2 separate regions of the Homo sapiens genome follow, and region 2 is linked to region 1. The links are contacts of gene promoters, found by promoter capture Hi-C in blood cells and fetal thymus (Javierre and others, 2016). All regions are on one chromosome and are shown on one strand. Each heading gives the region's core, a stretch centred on a gene start or on the middle of the fragment in contact. The rest is flanking DNA. Distances are from core to core; before and after follow the strand shown.

Evidence for each region. Contacts are between HindIII fragments. The CHiCAGO score rates a contact against its expected background, and 5 or more counts as called.
Region 2: a fragment that was not itself captured here is called in contact with the fragment with the promoter of WDR1 in region 1 in 1 of 17 cell types (neutrophils); the score reaches 5.2 in neutrophils.

Annotation. Positions count from the first base shown.
Region 1 is chr4:10,114,782-10,118,445 of GRCh38, reverse strand. WDR1 (WD repeat domain 1) reads left to right here and starts at 1,647. Exons shown (of 15, transcript NM_017491.5): 1 at 1,647-1,795; 2 at 2,212-2,333. The coding sequence starts at 1,780. LOC124900666 (a long non-coding RNA gene) reads right to left here and starts at 1,357. Exons shown (of 2, transcript XR_007058030.1): 1 at 1-1,357. It also overlaps the pseudogene RNA5SP155. RefSeq lists enhancers at 146-235, 316-415, 2,186-2,335, 1,986-2,790 and silencers at 1,336-1,455, 1,466-1,875, 1,956-2,105. The HindIII fragment of the contact is 9,752 bases long and covers 791-3,664 here.
Region 2 is chr4:13,598,540-13,602,640 of GRCh38, reverse strand. It overlaps BOD1L1 (biorientation of chromosomes in cell division 1 like 1), which reads left to right. Exons shown (of 26, transcript NM_148894.3): 10 at 1-3,695. Among named protein-coding and RNA genes, the nearest start is that of BOD1L1, 27 kb to the left of the region's middle. RefSeq lists enhancers at 1,316-1,385, 2,478-2,978, 2,979-3,479. The HindIII fragment of the contact is 5,971 bases long and covers 1-4,101 here.

The DNA.
Region 1 (3,664 bases), core at 398-2,897:
GACGAGACTAGAAGCTTGGACACTTCACATTCCCTGCTCTCCCTTCCACAATTGAGCCACTGCCCTGGTTTTAGAAGTGGGGCTTGTTTTGCTCTGAAGTAACCCTTAACGTCCTTAGAAGTAGCAGCTCCCCTACCCCTCTCCCCACGCCTTTGCCTTTTAAAAACCTTAACTTTTGAGAGAGAGAAACAGCACAAGTTCAGGCCCAGCAGAGTAACCCCTACGTTGTTGCCAGCAACTACTTCAAGGGCAGTTAACCGTGCTTAAAGACGCCAAAAGCATCCATCTCCCGCTTACAACAACATTTAGCTACCCCCCACCCACGTACTTTGCTTTCTCCCACTTTTACAACCCTCCCACCCCCAGAGCCCCGAGGGAAAGCTTGTACCCATTCTACTGAAAGATGAGACTAGAAACTTGTACACTTCACAGCGCCTGCTCTCCAGCTGAGCCACTACCCGGGTTTTACAAGTGGGGCTTGTTTTGCTTTCTTAGGAAATAACCTTTAACTTCCTTAAAAGCAGCAGCGCCCCCACCCCCACTTTTGCCTTTCAAAAGCTAAACTTTTGAGAAAAAGCACGAGTTCAGGCCTAACAAAGAGTAACCCTTACGTTCTTGTTGCCAGTAACTACTTCAAGAAAAAGCACTTAACCGTGCTTAGAGAAAGACGCCAACAGCATTCCTCTTCCACTTACAACAACATTCAGCTACCCGCCCGCACCCCGCCAAATACTTTGCTTTCTCCCACTTTTACAACCCTCCCAGCCCCCAGAGCCCCAAGGGGAAAGCTTGTACCCATCCTACTGAAAGATGAGACTAGAAACTTGGACACTTTACAGCCCCTGCTCTCCCGCCACAACTGAGCCACTACCCTGGTTTTAGGAGTGAGACTTGTTTTGTTTAGGAAATAACCTTTAACTTCCTTAAGACCGACAGCTCCCCCATCCCCCACGCCTTTTTTGCCTTTCAAAAGCTCAACTTTTGAGAGAAAAAGCACGAGTTCAGGCCCAACAAAGAGTAACCCCTACGTTCTTGTTGCCAGCAACTACTTCAAGCAAGGGCACTTAACCGTACTTTAAGAAGACGTAAAAAGCATCCCTCTCCTGCTTACAAAACCCGAGCAGGAGGACTGGCGGCTGGGCAACGCCCGGGACCGGTCAAAAAGGAGAGGCCGGGGAGCGCCCGCCACGCAACGCGGTCACAGGTACAGAGAGGTTTTTCCAGACCCCCACCAAAGCCCGCCAGTACTTTCAGCGTCTTTAAGACCCCCCCGCAAATAAACTTCCTACAGCCCAGCTTCTCCTACAAGCTAGCAACAGAAAGGCACCCACCCCCCGACTCCCAGAAGCATTCTGACGCGGCTGCTTGTCTGCGCCGCCTTTTCAAGGGCCCGCGGGGCGTGCTATACGTCACTTCCGGGGCGGGGCGAGCAAGGCGGAGGCGGGGCCGGGGCCGGCGGGGGAGGGGAGCGCCAGGTCCGCGCAGGCTCGCCGGGACCGCAGCCGCCGAGCCGAGCGCTTGACTATATATGGTCAAAGCTGGGGGCGAGCCGCGCGCGGGACCGCGCTTCCGGGTTCGGGGCGTCCGCAACCACAGCGCGCAGGGCAGGCGCGAGCTGGCCTCTGAGCCCCGGCCTCGGACCGCCCACTCCACTCCCGGCACGCCCGGTGCCGCCTTCCGGCTCCAGTCCCCGGGCTCGGCCTCGGCGAGGTGTAATTCGCAGCGCGGGCCGGCCCCGGAGGCTCTCGGCGAGCGCGGCGCGGTAACAAGTGGGCGAGGATGCCGTACGAGATCAGTAAGTGCCGCGGCGCGGGGCCCCCGAGCGGCCGCCGCGCTGCCCCGGCCCCGGTCCCCGGCCCCTAGGCGCCGTGCGGGTGGCGGGGGAGTCCTCGGCGCGGGGGAGGGGTGCGGGCGCCGGCCGGAGGCGTGGCGGGGCCGCCCTCGGTGGTGCAGGGCGGGACCCCCGACGGGGGGTGCGCCCCCAAGTTGGCGCCGTGGGCCGAGCCGGAGGAGCCCCGCTGCCCCCAAGGGCCTGGCCCGGGGCGCGGACCAGGAAGTCGCGCGGTTCCTGGCGCTCGTGGAAAGTGGAGGCCGCCCTCCCGGCGCAGTCAACAGGTGACCGGCCGAGACCGGTCCGGGGCTCCTTCTCCCTTCTGTCCCCGCCGTCCCCGCCCTGCCCTGACATGCCCCGCCGCATTTGTGTCTCCGCAGAGAAGGTGTTCGCCAGCCTCCCGCAGGTGGAGAGGGGCGTCTCCAAGATCATCGGCGGCGACCCTAAGGGCAACAATTTTCTGTACACCAATGGAAAGTGCGTCATCCTAAGGAACATCGACGTGAGTACCCCCTACCCCGGGCGCGGTTCTGCTCCGGAGCCACCTTGGGATGGGATAATTCGCCTTCCTCTCCACTTCTCACCTCCTGCCCATTGGCCCGGGGAGGGTGAGGGCGCCACGCCCCCTCTACCGGGAGCCACACCTCGGAGCCCCGGAAGCCGGCCTCAGATTCACCCAGGTCCTTGTCTGCTCCTTCTTGATGAGGAAACTGAGTCTTAGTTCGTTTCTGTCTACGGTCATAGCACCCTGAAAGCGCCGGATCGCCTCTGATCTTGGAAGCTAAGCACGGTCAGGCCTGGTTAGTACGTGGATGGGAGATTAGATTAGTTCATTCCTTAAAAGCAAGGGCTCCGGATTTGAGGGATCAGACTGACCCGGTCGGCCGCTGCGTGACCTTGAGAAGATTGGCGATTTGGGCATCTCTGAGCCCCAGTTTTCTCGTCTGTAAAACAGATGATGAGATGATGACCACTCTCGCTTCGCCTGCTGGCTGGGCAGATGGAATGAATGAGCTGCTGGCGTCCCTCAAGCCCAGCGGTGCCTGGTGCACTTTGAGCCCTTGCTGAATGGAATGGCACTCAGCTAACTCGCTGTTAATACCCTGGTCTTCCAGTATGGCAGAGCCCGGAAAAACACCCGGGCCTCTGGGCCAGCCAGATCTGCCACCATGGATCTAAGCCCCAAAGCAAAAACAGGAAGCAGTGTTTTCCCATGAATCATTCTCTGCAAGCCTCCGGTACCCAGGCTGAAAAGGCTTCTAGAGCCAGCTCCTTGGGAAATCCTTGCAAATTCATGTTATTCCTCTGTAATTGTTGGGGTGACCCAGTCTGTCAGTCTCCCTCCCTTCCTGGGTTACACGCTTAAATTTTGCTTTTCCCTTCCTCAGCCTGAGTGATGGAATTGGTGGGGTGGGAGTTGGAGGTGCCGGCCCGGCCATTGGGTGATTTCTCCTGTGCTGTGCTTAGTGGGGGCGGCTGGCACAAAGATGTATGTTTTGATTGATGCCATAGGCATACAAGGGTTGTCAACTTAAAGTCAGCCTGATTTCCCTTGGTAGGTTGGGACTGTTGATCGGACACACTTGCCCTCCAGGAGGCCAGCAACTGGCTGAGGGAATGAAGGGGTCTCTGGGTCTCAGTTTCCTTCTCTGTGAAAGGAGAAGCCTCTTGGTCCGAAGAGCTGCTGGCTCTGCCCGCATCTGTCTCGTTAACCCAGGCAGTCGCTGCTGTTCCTCTGCTGGAAGACAGAGCTCTACCTGCCCTGGATTGCTGGGCCCCTCAAATGAGGGGGTGGGCGGGTGTGAATGTGCTTTGAAGGTGCTAACAACTTGC
Region 2 (4,101 bases), core at 710-3,209, 3.5 Mb before region 1:
CAATTTAAAGCAGACAATTAAAGCAACAGTAGAGAATGGCAAGAAGGATGGCATTGCTGTTGATCATGTTGTAGGCCTGAATACAGAAAAATATGCTGAAACTGTCAAACTTAAGCATAAAAGAAGCCCAGGTAAAGTAAAAGACATATCAATTGATGTTGAAAGAAGGAATGAAAACAGTGAGGTAGACACCAGTGCTGGAAGTGGCTCTGCACCCTCTGTTTTACACCAAAGGAACGGACAAACTGAGGATGTGGCAACTGGGCCTAGGAGAGCAGAAAAGACTTCTGTTGCCACTAGTACTGAAGGGAAGGACAAAGATGTCACCTTAAGTCCAGTGAAGGCTGGGCCTGCCACAACCACTTCTTCAGAAACAAGACAAAGTGAGGTGGCTTTGCCTTGCACCAGCATTGAGGCAGATGAAGGCCTCATAATAGGAACACATTCCAGAAATAATCCTCTTCATGTTGGTGCAGAAGCCAGTGAATGCACTGTTTTTGCTGCAGCTGAAGAAGGTGGGGCTGTTGTCACAGAGGGATTTGCTGAAAGTGAAACCTTCCTCACAAGCACTAAGGAAGGGGAAAGTGGGGAGTGTGCTGTGGCTGAATCTGAGGACAGAGCAGCAGACCTACTGGCTGTGCATGCAGTTAAAATCGAAGCCAATGTAAATAGCGTTGTGACAGAGGAAAAGGATGATGCTGTAACCAGTGCAGGCTCTGAAGAAAAATGTGATGGTTCTTTAAGTAGAGACTCAGAAATAGTTGAAGGAACTATTACTTTTATTAGTGAAGTTGAAAGTGATGGAGCAGTTACAAGTGCTGGAACAGAGATAAGAGCAGGATCTATAAGCAGTGAAGAGGTGGATGGCTCCCAGGGAAATATGATGAGAATGGGTCCCAAAAAAGAAACAGAGGGCACTGTGACATGTACAGGAGCAGAAGGCAGAAGTGATAACTTTGTGATCTGCTCAGTAACTGGAGCAGGGCCCCGGGAGGAACGCATGGTTACAGGTGCAGGTGTTGTCCTGGGAGATAATGATGCACCACCAGGAACAAGTGCCAGCCAAGAAGGAGATGGTTCTGTGAATGATGGTACAGAAGGTGAGAGTGCAGTCACCAGCACGGGGATAACAGAAGATGGAGAGGGGCCAGCAAGTTGCACAGGTTCAGAAGATAGCAGCGAAGGCTTTGCTATAAGTTCTGAATCGGAAGAAAATGGAGAGAGTGCAATGGACAGCACAGTGGCCAAAGAAGGCACTAATGTACCATTAGTTGCTGCTGGTCCTTGTGATGATGAAGGCATTGTGACTAGCACAGGCGCAAAAGAGGAAGACGAGGAAGGGGAGGATGTTGTGACTAGTACTGGAAGAGGAAATGAAATTGGGCATGCTTCAACTTGTACAGGGTTAGGAGAAGAAAGTGAAGGGGTCTTGATTTGTGAAAGTGCAGAAGGGGACAGTCAGATTGGTACTGTGGTAGAGCATGTGGAAGCTGAGGCTGGAGCTGCCATCATGAATGCAAATGAAAATAATGTTGACAGCATGAGTGGCACAGAGAAAGGAAGTAAAGACACAGATATCTGCTCCAGTGCAAAAGGGATTGTAGAAAGCAGTGTGACCAGTGCAGTCTCAGGAAAGGATGAAGTGACACCAGTTCCAGGAGGTTGTGAGGGTCCTATGACTAGTGCTGCATCTGATCAAAGTGACAGTCAGCTCGAAAAAGTTGAAGATACCACTATTTCCACTGGCCTGGTCGGGGGTAGTTACGATGTTCTTGTATCTGGTGAAGTCCCAGAATGTGAAGTTGCTCACACATCACCAAGTGAAAAAGAAGATGAGGACATCATCACCTCTGTAGAAAATGAAGAGTGTGATGGTCTCATGGCAACTACAGCCAGTGGTGATATTACCAACCAGAATAGCTTAGCAGGGGGTAAAAATCAAGGCAAAGTTTTGATTATTTCCACCAGTACCACAAATGATTACACCCCTCAGGTAAGCGCAATTACAGATGTGGAAGGAGGTCTCTCAGATGCTCTGAGAACTGAAGAAAATATGGAAGGTACCAGAGTAACCACAGAAGAATTTGAGGCCCCCATGCCCAGTGCAGTCTCAGGAGATGACAGCCAACTCACTGCCAGCAGAAGTGAAGAGAAAGATGAGTGTGCCATGATTTCCACAAGCATAGGGGAAGAATTCGAATTGCCTATCTCCAGTGCAACAACCATCAAGTGTGCTGAAAGTCTTCAGCCGGTTGCTGCAGCAGTGGAAGAAAGGGCTACAGGTCCAGTCTTGATAAGCACCGCCGACTTTGAGGGGCCTATGCCCAGTGCGCCCCCAGAAGCTGAAAGTCCTCTTGCCTCAACCAGCAAGGAGGAGAAGGATGAATGTGCTCTCATTTCCACTAGCATAGCAGAAGAATGTGAGGCTTCTGTTTCCGGTGTAGTTGTTGAAAGTGAAAATGAGCGAGCTGGCACAGTCATGGAAGAAAAAGACGGGAGTGGCATCATCTCTACGAGCTCGGTGGAAGACTGTGAGGGCCCAGTGTCCAGTGCTGTCCCTCAAGAGGAAGGCGACCCCTCAGTCACACCAGCGGAAGAGATGGGTGACACCGCCATGATTTCCACAAGCACCTCTGAAGGGTGTGAAGCAGTCATGATTGGTGCTGTCCTCCAGGATGAAGATCGGCTCACCATCACAAGAGTAGAAGACTTGAGCGATGCTGCCATCATCTCCACCAGCACAGCAGAATGTATGCCAATTTCCGCCAGCATTGACAGACATGAAGAGAATCAGCTGACTGCAGACAACCCAGAAGGGAACGGTGACCTGTCAGCCACAGAAGTGAGCAAGCACAAGGTCCCCATGCCCAGCCTAATTGCTGAGAATAACTGTCGGTGTCCTGGGCCAGTCAGGGGAGGCAAAGAACCGGGTCCCGTGTTGGCAGTGAGCACCGAGGAGGGGCACAACGGGCCATCAGTCCACAAGCCCTCTGCAGGGCAAGGCCATCCAAGTGCTGTTTGTGCGGAAAAAGAAGAGAAGCATGGCAAGGAGTGCCCCGAAATAGGACCATTTGCAGGAAGAGGACAGAAAGAGAGCACTTTACACCTCATAAATGCAGAAGAGAAGAATGTATTGTTGAACTCCCTTCAGAAAGAAGATAAGAGCCCAGAGACAGGGACAGCAGGGGGCAGTAGCACAGCAAGTTATTCAGCAGGAAGGGGCTTAGAGGGGAATGCTAACTCACCTGCCCACCTGAGAGGACCAGAACAGACGTCTGGGCAGACGGCTAAGGATCCCTCTGTCAGCATTCGCTATTTGGCAGCAGTAAACACCGGTGCTATAAAAGCTGATGACATGCCACCTGTTCAAGGGACCGTGGCTGAGCATTCCTTTCTTCCTGCTGAGCAGCAGGGGTCTGAAGACAACTTGAAAACCAGTACCACCAAATGTATTACTGGCCAAGAATCAAAAATTGCTCCTTCCCACACAATGATCCCTCCAGCTACTTACAGTGTAGCTCTGTTGGCTCCTAAATGTGAGCAGGACTTGACTATAAAGAATGATTATAGTGGCAAATGGACTGATCAAGCATCTGCTGAGAAAACAGGAGATGATAACAGCACAAGGAAATCATTCCCTGAGGAAGGAGACATAATGGTTACTGTGTCTTCTGAAGAAAATGTGTGTGACATAGGTGAGAATCTGTACCTAATTGCAAATTTTAATATTTACAAGGATGATTGTACAACAGAGTGCATTTAGGACAGTCTTCCAAAAGATGGTTTTGGTTCCAGAAAGATAAAATATCTATAAATTTTTTTCTCATATCATAATGTTGCAAAATAACTCTCATCAAACTTGAAGGTCAAACTTCTCTAAAAGCTACTTGTGTTTAAAAGTTTAAAGCCTTTGGCCCATTTCTCATGTGTGGGGAGAGAAAAAGCAGGAGGCTGAGGCATGGGAAGTCCACATGTTATTTACATGACTGCTGCAACTTACTAAACCTTTTTGACCTACAGGTTTTTTGTCAATCAAAAAGAAGAATACCCTACCACAACCCAATGAAAGCAATACATTTTTTTTTTACCACCCTCATTTTA